Linked DNA regions of Homo sapiens: regions 1 and 3 are each linked to region 2. The links are contacts of gene promoters, found by promoter capture Hi-C in blood cells and fetal thymus (Javierre and others, 2016). All regions are on one chromosome and are shown on one strand. The core of a region is centred on a gene start or on the middle of the fragment in contact, and the rest is flanking DNA. Distances in the headings are between cores, read along the strand shown.

Evidence for each region. Contacts are between HindIII fragments. The CHiCAGO score rates a contact against its expected background, and 5 or more counts as called.
Region 1: a contact is called between the fragment with the promoter of TBRG4 here and the fragment with the promoter of COA1 in region 2, in 11 of 17 cell types (total CD4 T cells, activated CD4 T cells, fetal thymus and 8 more). The highest score is 19.7, in total CD4 T cells.
Region 3: a contact is called between a fragment that was not itself captured here and the fragment with the promoter of COA1 in region 2, in 2 of 17 cell types (total B cells and naive B cells). The highest score is 7.8, in total B cells.

What each region holds. Positions count from the first base shown.
Region 1 is chr7:45,110,159-45,113,839 of GRCh38, reverse strand. TBRG4 (transforming growth factor beta regulator 4) reads left to right here and starts at 2,143. Exons shown (of 11, transcript NM_004749.4): 1 at 2,143-2,197. RefSeq lists enhancers at 1,616-2,371, 1,735-2,444. The HindIII fragment of the contact is 1,963 bases long and covers 1,017-2,979 here.
Region 2 is chr7:43,727,504-43,730,982 of GRCh38, reverse strand. COA1 (cytochrome c oxidase assembly factor 1) reads left to right here and starts at 1,460. Exons shown (of 6, transcript NM_018224.4): 1 at 1,460-1,554. RefSeq lists enhancers at 1,150-1,349, 716-1,444, 1,445-2,174. The HindIII fragment of the contact is 9,306 bases long and covers 807-3,479 here.
Region 3 is chr7:41,974,111-41,977,595 of GRCh38, reverse strand. It overlaps GLI3 (GLI family zinc finger 3), which reads left to right. Exons shown (of 15, transcript NM_000168.6): 12 at 1-38. Among named protein-coding and RNA genes, the nearest start is that of GLI3, 260 kb to the left of the region's middle. The HindIII fragment of the contact is 1,214 bases long and covers 644-1,857 here.

The DNA.
Region 1 (3,681 bases), core at 894-3,393, 1.4 Mb before region 2:
ACCTAAAGAAAAAAGTTACAAGGGTTTTAGAAGCTCTATGCAGAGACCACATATATATTTCTTAAGTCACAGGTGGCTTTTAGTATACTCAGTGTTGTGCAACCATCCCTATTATCCAATTCCAGGACACTTTTACCATCTCAAAAAGAAACCTCAAACCCATCAGAAGTCACTCCCTATTCTCCCCACCTCAACATCACATAGGTGACTCTATCAATTCACCTACTCTGGACATTGCAAATATAAATGGAACTATACAATATGTGGCCTCATGTGTCTAACTTCTTTCCCTTAGCATGTTTTCAAGGTTCTTTCCTCAACAAAACTCCATTAGTTTGTCTAAAGCTTTTCTTTTAACAGATCTATAAATCTGTTGTAATATTGTCTTTTGACAGACAACTTGTGAAGGATTTGGAGTAGAATTTGTGATAAATACATGGAATCTTAATTAACTGTTAACAGAAAAATCAAACTCTGTAAATTACTTAAAGAGGTTTATTCAGGGCCAATGAGTGACCACAGCCCCAGGAAAATACAAACCCAAAAAGCCTTAAGTGTTCCCGAGGCAGTCAGATTATAGTTTGGTTTTATACATTTCAGGGAGCCAGGGGTTACAGGCAAAGACATAAATCAATGTGTGGAAGGTATACACTGGTTTGGCTCCAAAAGACAGGATGTCTTGATGTGGGGGGTTTACAAGTTATATGTGGACTCAAATACATAGATATATACACGATATATGATTGATTGATAGATAGATAGATAGATCTCTTGGTAGGGGTAGATAGGGTCTCCCTATGTTGCCCAGGCTAGTCTTGAACTCTTGGCCTCAAGTGATCCTCCCACCTCAGCCAGCTTGACCAAGAGATTTTTTAATTTGCAACTGGTTAAAAGAGTGAGGCTCTGTGTAAAATTTGGAGTCAGCAGAAAAGAATGTTTAAGATAGTATGCCAGAATCAGCCACAATACACTGGGTCAAAAAAGACCTCTTCAGCAAGATTGATGGTCTGCAAGCTTGACTTAACCCTTGCCTTGCACGGCCTTAGGTCTTGTTTATAATTTGGTATCTTACTACCACAAAGTCTGTTAGTCTTATGATCTCTACTTTAACAAGGGGTGTTCAACCTCCCTTTCCAGAATGGCTGGGAACTCAGTTTTTAAGGTTTCTCTGGGGTCTCCTTGGCTAAGAGGAGGTCCGTTCAGTGCTTGGGGGGCTTACAATTTTATTTTTAGTTTACAAACACAAACAAACGTAATTATTTATTTTTATGTTTTTTGTTTTGTTTTTTGCGACAGAGTCTTGCTCTGTCAACCAGGCTGAGTGCAGTGGCAAGATCGCTGCTCACTGCAACCTCCACCTCCCGGATTCAAGCGATTCTCATGCCTCAGCCTCCCTAGTAGCTGGGACTACAGGTGCGCCCTACCACGCCCGGCTAATTTTTTTGTATTTTTAGTAGAGACGGGGTTTCGCCATGTTGGCCAAGCTGGTCTCGAACTCCTGAACTCAAGTGATCCGCCCACCGAGGCCTGGGATTACAGGCGTGAGCCACCGTGCGTAGCCAAGTAATTATTAACTCCACAGAAAATAAAAGGCTGTGCAGGAAGTAAAAATTAATCAAGTCCATATATAGACCTCAGATACATTTCGTTTGGGCTATCCTGCACTTTACTTTGTAATTAAACACCACTATTTAAAAATCAGGAAAATTGCACATAAAAATCCAGCTGCAAGTGGGCGCTCTGGAGTTCCCCAGTCTCCACTCACTCGTCCTCCCAGCCCCCACAGGCCTCAACGTCGCCTATCCCACTCCACCAGCCCAGTCTTCCACCGCCCTAGGAACTCTCCTACGCCTACGCAAGCAGGGAGGGATAGGGTGACAGCACCGACAACAAAGGGTCGTCTCCCGCACTCCGTATGAGGATGGCGTACTGGTCGGGGGGCAACCGAAGCCTTTCTTCCTAGGTTCTTTATCTTTTCTAAGTTTCCCATGACCTATCGCTCCGCTTGAGCCCTCAGCAAAGATGTCACCCGCCGAAAGGTGTGGCCGGAAGCTGGAGGCGTGGCTTCCGGACGTGCGGGGCGAGGCTCGTCTCGTTTCCGCCGGCGCTCCGAGTGACGTAGGGAAGCGCGCCGCGCACCTCATGGTTCCGGGGACAGTTAGGGCGGCGGATGGAGGTCAGCGGTGGTGCTCGCTGCGTAGGTCTTGTGGCACGGGGAGAAGGGGCGGCTGATCGTGGGTTTCGAGTGCACAACACAGGCGTGGCTGGGAAGGTCCTGGGATGCGGTGGAACTGGGGAGCAGGCTGGGACGCGGTGGGATGCCGTGGGCCTGGCCGTCTGCTCGTTCCGTGCTGGCTTGCCAGTGCGCACGCTTCCTCTCTAGCCCGCGCGGCCAGGCCTGGAAGACGCCGCCCCTGTTGACCGTCCATGACCCCAGCGAGCCAGTTTTCGTGACTTAGTGCAAGTTGTTTTCTCTCTGCATTTTAGAACTAAAGTTTTGGATTGCTGTTTGCCTAAACTCAAGTCTGGCTCCTGGGCTTCCGTTTACTCGGCTAAACTGCTCTTAGGGCTCTTAAAAAATTGGAAAGGCGGCCGGGCGCGGTGGCTCACTCCGGTAATCCCAGCACTTTGGGAGGCCGAGACGGGTGGATCACTTGAGGTCATGGTGAAACCCTGTCTCTACTAAAAATACAAAAATTAGCCAGGTGTGGTGGCGCGGGCCTGTAGTCCCAGCTATTTGGGAGGCTGAGGCAGGAGAATCGCTTGAATCCGGGAGGCTGAGGTTGCAGTGACTCGAGATCGCAGCATTGCACTCCAGTCTGGGCGACAGAGCGAGACTCCGTCTCAAAAAAATAAGTCGGAAAGATTTCTACACTGTGCTTAGGCTCAGGAAGTGGTAGATGTTGCGTTTGGGCAAATACTCCGACTCTCTGATCTCTCTCTCTTTTTTTTTTTCTTTAAGTGGAGTTAGACTAAGCTTTTTACAGCTGCTTTAATCCCCTCATATAAAAAGAAAATGTGCTGGCCATATACCAAGTTCCAGGAAGTGGAGAAAGATCAAACGTACATTCTGCTTTGGCAGAAATGAGGCCTAGGTGAACGTTTTATCTTGCCCTTGTCGCATGTCTTCCCTGGATCATGTAATCACCGTAGGGAGCTAGACTAGCTGATAGAATTTTTTTTCTTTTTTTTTTTTTTTGTGACAGAGTCTCGCTCTGCCACCCAGGCTGGAGTGCAGTGGCGCGATCTCGGCTCACTTCAAGCTCTGCCTCACCCTCCCTAGTAGCTGGGACTACAGGTGCCCGCCACCACGCCCGGCTAATTTTTTTGTATTTTTAGTAGAGACGGTGTTTCACCGTGTTAGCCAGGATGGTCTCGATCTCCTGACCTCGTGATCTGCCCGCCTCAGCCTCCCAAAGTACTGGGATTACAGGCGTGAGCCACTGCGCCTGGCCGATAGAATTGTTAAAAGCAACATCAAGGCTATATGTAACACATTGCTGGAGATGGCAACATTGAGTTTGGCCTTGGAAGGATGAGATGTATTTTAAAGGGTCTTATAGGGGGAGGAGGAGACCCAGATAACAAGCCCTGTAAGGTGAAGTGGAAGTGCAAGGCCTGTTTAAAATGGGGCCTTGTGTTGCTGGGAGGCAGAAAAAGCTAAGACTGAGAAAATCATTC
Region 2 (3,479 bases), core at 211-2,710:
GTTTTTAATGTAAAATTTAGACGAAAACTTTAGCAGATTTAAGTCCAGTGATAGAAATGTTAAGTTCTGAGTTTTCAAGCAAATGGTCAGAAAAGCCTATTTAATGTTTTATTACTTACAAAGTAAACATATTTCTCTTTCTGGTACAGAACGGGAGCTAATTGATCTCGGGTTCATTTTCATGAACGTTGTATGAAATGCACATATACCAAACCTCATAAGCTTTTTATTAGTTGATTTATTCTTTGAAATATTAAGCTTGGTGTAAGGTATTATAACCTCAATCTCTTTGAAAATGTAATAAGTCAATAATCAATGTTGCATCAATGAATATTACTCAGTGGATGCCTATTTTATTTCTTCTTTTTCTCTAAGAACCATTTAAATAGTCCTTATGGCCGAGCACTTCACAATCTGATTAGTTTCTATTAATTCTTTGGAAAAGAAACATTCTGGGAAGTCAGAATTCAGCGGTAGGTTGCTTTGATAATGTGCTCATTTAGCTAGTGGATTCCAGAGTGATAGAATGTATGTTTGGCAACCTAATTGTTGTGGAGGAAGAAAAGAACTTCTGTTAGAAGTTTTTAAAAAAGTTTAAAAATTGTTTTTACCTCATCAAAAGTTTGATGTCTTGTGAGTTTTATAGCATGCATAATATATTAATGCCATACATGACACATGTAAATATATATATATTTTTTCTGATAGGGATGTGTGAGCAAGAGTTTAAAGAAGAATGCCCCAGTCTAAAGTTAATTAGTCTTGGAGTGATGGCTTCGCAGAGGAAAGATACTGGATTTCAAGCTTGACATTAAGGTGATAATAGTGGTGACTATGGAATAATCAATATAAAAATAATAACAGCTAACAGTTACTGAGCGCCTACAAACTGCCAGACACTACTCTAAGTGCTTCACATCCTCATAACAAATTTATGAGGTAAATGCTATTATTATCCACCAGCCTTCTGAAATTTTCTTACCCCGTTACTCCCTGGTGTTAACTGGGTACTTAATTTGTCGAATAAAATAAAATTTAGTGCTGCCAAATTTGTCAGCTGAACGGGGCGGCAGGAATTTCAGTGCTAGAGTGGGGGGCCAGACGGCCCGGGGCTTCGTGTCCTTGGAGGCCAGCGGAAGCGCCGCATACCTGTGAGGAGCAACGTGAGCCGGTGGCTTATATTTCCTGGGCTAGTGCTACTGGACTGAATGCATTTGCAATAACCGGACGCAGAAAAAAAAAAAAAAAGCGGGGACCAGGGGAGGCGAAACCCTTCCCGGCGCGAGTCCGAGCGTCTGAGAAGCAGAAGCCACACGTCCCGGCGACCTAAGTTCTGGATCAGCCGGCCGGAGGACCCGTGTTAGCATTTACAATCCGAGGTGAGCTGAAGCCTCCGGTTGTCCCGGTTCGACGCTCTAGCCCTGCGAGCAGCCGACGCCGGAAGTCTCTACTGCTCCCCGCTGGCGCGCAGGACCGCGGGCATTTACCCGTGCTTTCCCAAGCCTGGAAGAACTCGTCATGCTCTTTGTAGCGTGGTGCTTCTGTTGCTCACAGGTTAGTCTCCCGCGGTATAAGAGTCTCCGTCTTCCCCCCAGCAAGAAGCGTTTGTTCCTGCAATTCGGGGGGCCGCCTTTGCGCGCGGGGTGCGCTGCTTCTTGGAGAGTTCCCTCACGGGTCACATCGCGGAGGTTCGCGCCGGCGCCGGGTCGCGGCCTCCCTGCGCAGCTTCTTTGGCACCTGGTAACCTTCAGTGGCTCCGTCCGCTCGGAGTTAGGAGGCTGTGTCGAGCTAACCTTGACCTTGTCCTGCAGTTTTTGCTGACCATCCCCAACAGCACACTGTAAAGAGTTAGGGTCCTCTCGAAGAGTTGGGACTGGGCACTTTTGTTGGTAGTGCTAAATTTCAACACCCTGAGGAGTACGCTGCCCAAATTATTGTAGGAAAGAATTACCTGGTTTAGTGGTTATAATACTTTTTGTCCCCACCACACTTGAATAACAGAAAAACCCTCCCAACAGGGGCTGACTGCAAAAGTGATTTTCTGTGTAGGGGACATTGGATGTATTTATGTATATATCAGTGCCTATCAGTCTGTATGTGTGTTTGGGGGTGGATGCTGTGTAATTTAAAAAAATCTATGGAGATTCTGATAATTTGATAACCTGTTTCTCCGGTCTTCCCCTGATTCCTCCCCATTCTCCCCGGAGGGCTATTGCTTTATTTCTGAGGTGGCTCACGTTTGGATAGAAGTAGCAACTCTCCGCTTACACCTGCACGTTTAAAACGCATATCAGATTGTGTTATTTCTGTCCTCAGAATCTTCCTGGCCTTCCCGTTGCTTTCAGGATAATACACATTTCTTAGCCTAACTTCAAGGGCCTACAGGGTCTTGATTCTGCTGAGTTTTTCAGTCTTTGCTACTTTCATGGAAAACACACCTGCAGGTACACTCATATTATGCTCCCACCATGCCAGTCTACGGTAATTTAATAACTTTAGATATGGCAAAGTTTTATATGGTTTACTCAAGTTTTAATTTTTGTTCTAGCATTTAGCCAAAATCGATTGAATTCATAATATTGCTAGGCACTGTTTTAAAAACGGGATAAAATGAAAACAAAACAAAACACAAAACAAAAGTCTTCAGTCCTTTAAAAAAATAAAACAGCTTCCTGACACATAGTTCACCTACCGTAGAGTTCACCATTTAAAACGTAGCGGTGCCTCACGCCTGTAATCCCAGCACTTTGGGAGGCCGAGGCGGGTGGATCACGAGGTCAGGAGATCAAGACCGTCCTGGCTAACACGGTGAAACCCCGTCTCCACTAAAAATACAAAAAATTAGCCGGGCGTGGTGGCGGGAGCCTGTAGTCCCAGCTACTTGGGAGGCTGAGGCAGGAGGATGGTGTGAACCCGGGAGGTGGAGCTTGCAGTGAGCCGAGATTGCGCCACTGCACTCCAGCCTGGGCGAGAGAGCTAGACTCCATCTCAAAAAAAAAAAAAAAGAAAGAAAACCTAAAAGTAATTAGTACATTAGTACATTCACAAAGTTGTACAACCATCATCATAAAATATGCTGTAATCTTCTTCACCTTCATTAGTTGGTTTAATTTTCTATTTCAGACAGACTCCAATAAGTTATTCTTGTATTCTTTTGTTCATGTTTAATATGCTGCATTCAGTTTGTGAGAGCCATATTGGAACAATTGAACATTTTCATCACTCCAAAAGGAAACCCTGTACTTATTCAGCAGGCTCACCTGACTTCCCCATCCCCACTCCCCATTCTAAGCCCTAAGCAACTATGAATTGACTGACTGTATATTTGACTATTCTGGATTATTCATGTGAGTGAAATCATACAGCATGTGGTCTTTTTCAACTGGCTTCTTTTACTTAACATTCATGTTCATCTGTGTTGTATTTAATAGCATGTGTCAGTACTTTTTTTTATTGCTGGTTAATCTTTTATGGGTATT
Region 3 (3,485 bases), core at 1-2,500, 1.8 Mb after region 2:
ATCGCGCCAAACACCAAAACAGAACGCATTCCAATGAGGTAAGCATCCTCAGTGGGCATGGAGCTTGCATAAGGAAACAAAGAACTATCCCGGGGAAGGCACATGGGAAGGCGCAGTGTGTTCTGTTTTGTTTTCCCCTTGGCCATTCCCAGCATGAGGGGCTCTGCCCCTGCAGGTGAAGGCTTGAGCTTCCTAGGTGGGACTGGAAACTGGATCTTATTTGGAGAATAATAAGAGATGAGGAGGAAACTTCTTAAAACCCCTGCGAACTTACTAGTTTCATGTTGTTTTGAACTGCCACCTACTGGTCAAACAGTGGGAGCATTTGACTTGGAATCTGAGCCAGTCACGCTGCCCAAAATAGCAGGAATCCATGCAAAGGATGACCCCATAAGCCCCAAGGATATATTAAGAAGTAGCATGTTGACAGCTGACAGCTTCCTGCTAAGTCATCCACTTTTATTTGCTTCCTCCAAGTGGTATCTTCAAATGGTATTATATCAAAAAAGATTTTTACAGAGCAACCAGCCTTGGCTAAATGCAATTTTCAGACATTCTAAATTCCAAAGGATCTTGGAAAATGGTCTCAGAAACCCAGAATACTTTCTAGGCAGTTACTTAAGAAAACATATTGAGTAAAGCTTCAGGGTGATTCCTGTTGTGTTACTGTTATTTTTAGGTAGCGATCCCCCCTAAATTGTAGAGAGGCATAAGAATAAAAATTATTCCAAATTCATTGCTTACATTTTAGTGAACATCTTCCTACAGACTTCCAATTTGGCCTTGGAGGTCTAGCTCAAATTCTGGCTTGTCTGTGAAATCTTCTCTTGAATGTATTGAGAGATTAACAAAAGGACTCCCCACATTTTGAGTGGAAATAGGATAGCTAACCAGAATTTGTTAACATGAGACATAGTTCAGCACCACAGCGTGTCATCAGTTTGCTTGAAATGTGTTAGAGAAGGAACATCGTGCACACATGAGACCCTGGAGTGGCTGTCATTTCATCTCACCAGTGCAGGTCAAACACATTCATGATCTTTCAGACAGAGAGCTGGGCAGAGAGAATCTTGATAGAAACAAAGTGAGCCATTCTGCTCAGTGGACTTTTGGCTTTAAGGTGGCAAAGATGGTTCTCACCATGTTTTCTTCAGCTGAAACTGACAGAGCAAAAACATCTCTAAAGGGATTAACTGCACTCTGTAAAAAGCACACTCACTCATAAACTCACACATGTAAGTTCATATATATACCAACTTTCTGTGTGAAAAGGTCATGGAAACTGGAGTTATTCGGAATCTCATTTTCTAACTGTTTGAAGACATTTTAAAGATGCCACATCTCCATTTTTAATGTAAAAATGCTTTTACAGTATGCAGTAGCTGGAATATAATCTATTACACTTGTTTTGTACAAAATTTTAGGGAGTCTAGAATAGATAGATACATAGAGATAGAAAGTAGATCAGTGGTTGCCAAAAGCAGAGGGGAGAGGGAATAGTGATGACTGCTAATGGATACAAGGTTTTTTTGTTGGGGTGGTGAAGATATTCTGGAATTAGGTAATGGTGATGATTACACAATGTCTAGAATGTACTAATGCCACTGAATTGTGCAATTTAAAGGGATTATTTTTATGGCATGTGAATTATATTTCAATTTAAAATTTTAAGGGGTTTTGACTTAACAGAATGTATTTCATATATTTCATAGATTTAAGTGTAATTTTGACTAGAAATTTAGGGGGCATTCATTCCTATAGATGTTAGGCCAATGCTGTCTCCTATTATCATGGAGAAGTTTGGACAGAGGGTATGTTAGGATCAGAATGCACACATATAAAGACAATTACCAAGCTTTTTTGTCTTTTTATGGACCTAAAATATTTGTACATGTCTGTTTGCTTTAATTGTGGTGTAGTTGAGCTTGTGTTCTTCTCCAAGGTAAAAAGTGCAATGTTGTGTGAGAGTTGAGTGTTTGTTATAAGATTAAAAGATAAGGATATCTTGGGTAGTAATGTCATTGACCACACTTGAGCAATTTACTTAAATTACTAACTTTTATCATAAATACATAATTAAAATTCTACCCACAGACATATTTACAAACAAATTATACTTCTCTCTTCTATATGCAAGACTTTGGCCCTGTGTGTGACTGATGGACATTTTCAGACGCATCAAAACTAAGTTTGTCCAGGAAATCCAGATTTGTGCAATTTCACAATCCTAGATGAATCAAGTGATTTGCCTTCATTTATTTCCTCTCTTATTTGCAACTTCATTTATTCATTGAACAAATACTTAAAGCTATTTATGTGCCAAGCCCTTTGCTGTTCTAAGTGTGGCCAAGAAAATAATGGACTGTAATGGGAAGGGAGTAATTGCTGGCACTTCTCTGTTCCTCTGGCTGTCCTGCTCATTTAGGGCTGCTAGACTGACCGTAGCTCTGACAGGACTTCTTACTCCAGATCAGACAGCTCATTTTTCCCCCAAAGATACCGCTAAACAAGTTTCCTGAGCTCTGATTCGGTTGAACCTCCCTCTCTAGAAAGCTGCAATGGCTCCCTCTTTCCTATAGGGAGACTTGAGACTCCCTAAGGTTGTGTAAGTGTCAGTTCTCACAGGGCCCAAGCTCATCCCTCTAGTCCTGACCTCTCACTATCATGACCATGAATGAAACCTTCCAGAAGCTGGTGCTGTGCACTGCCATGCTTAGGTGCATGAAGTGGTTCTGCCACTGGACCTTTGCTGAGGACACTTCTTTTTGGCATCCCAAGTAAAATGACTCCTAATAAAAGCTCTGTATATTGAGTGCTTACTATGTTCCATGCATCCTGGTAAGCACTTCATGTACATGATCTAATTTAGCACTTACTGATAATCCCGTGAGCTGGGCATTAAGCCCAGATATAGAATCTTAATAACTGATGCCTCCCATGATTATCCTAGCTGAAAAATGATCCCTCCTCTGTCTATATCCTTACATAGCTTTCACACTTTATATTACAGATCATTGCATCTTCTTATTTTTCCTATCAGATTTTGTATTCCTTATGATTAAATTTTGTTGTATGCAACTTTGTGCTTGCAGAATCTTGCACTTCAGTAAGTCTGAGAACATTTTTCTTAGTCTCTAATTATATTTTATTTCAGTCACTGATCACAACAAAATTTGTGGGCAAAAGTTGTGTGAAGGGTTAATATATTTTGTTTATGTTATGTTGTTGTGAGGTATACATTTCCTGAACCTGTATTCTTGTGAATTTGTGAATTTTTGTGGGTAGATAATGTGTATGTTCACACACAAGGGCACACGGGCACAGGTGCACCTGTATGGGCTGTTGTTTCTGGAAGTGCAGGAGCCGACACATTTGTATCTCATTACATATTGGCTGCGTCCTTGGTTCTAAGCTAACCCATAATGTACATCCATATATTTACAGGAAGAGTAGCTCTCCAAACATGCAGGCTTTGTGCTCCCTCT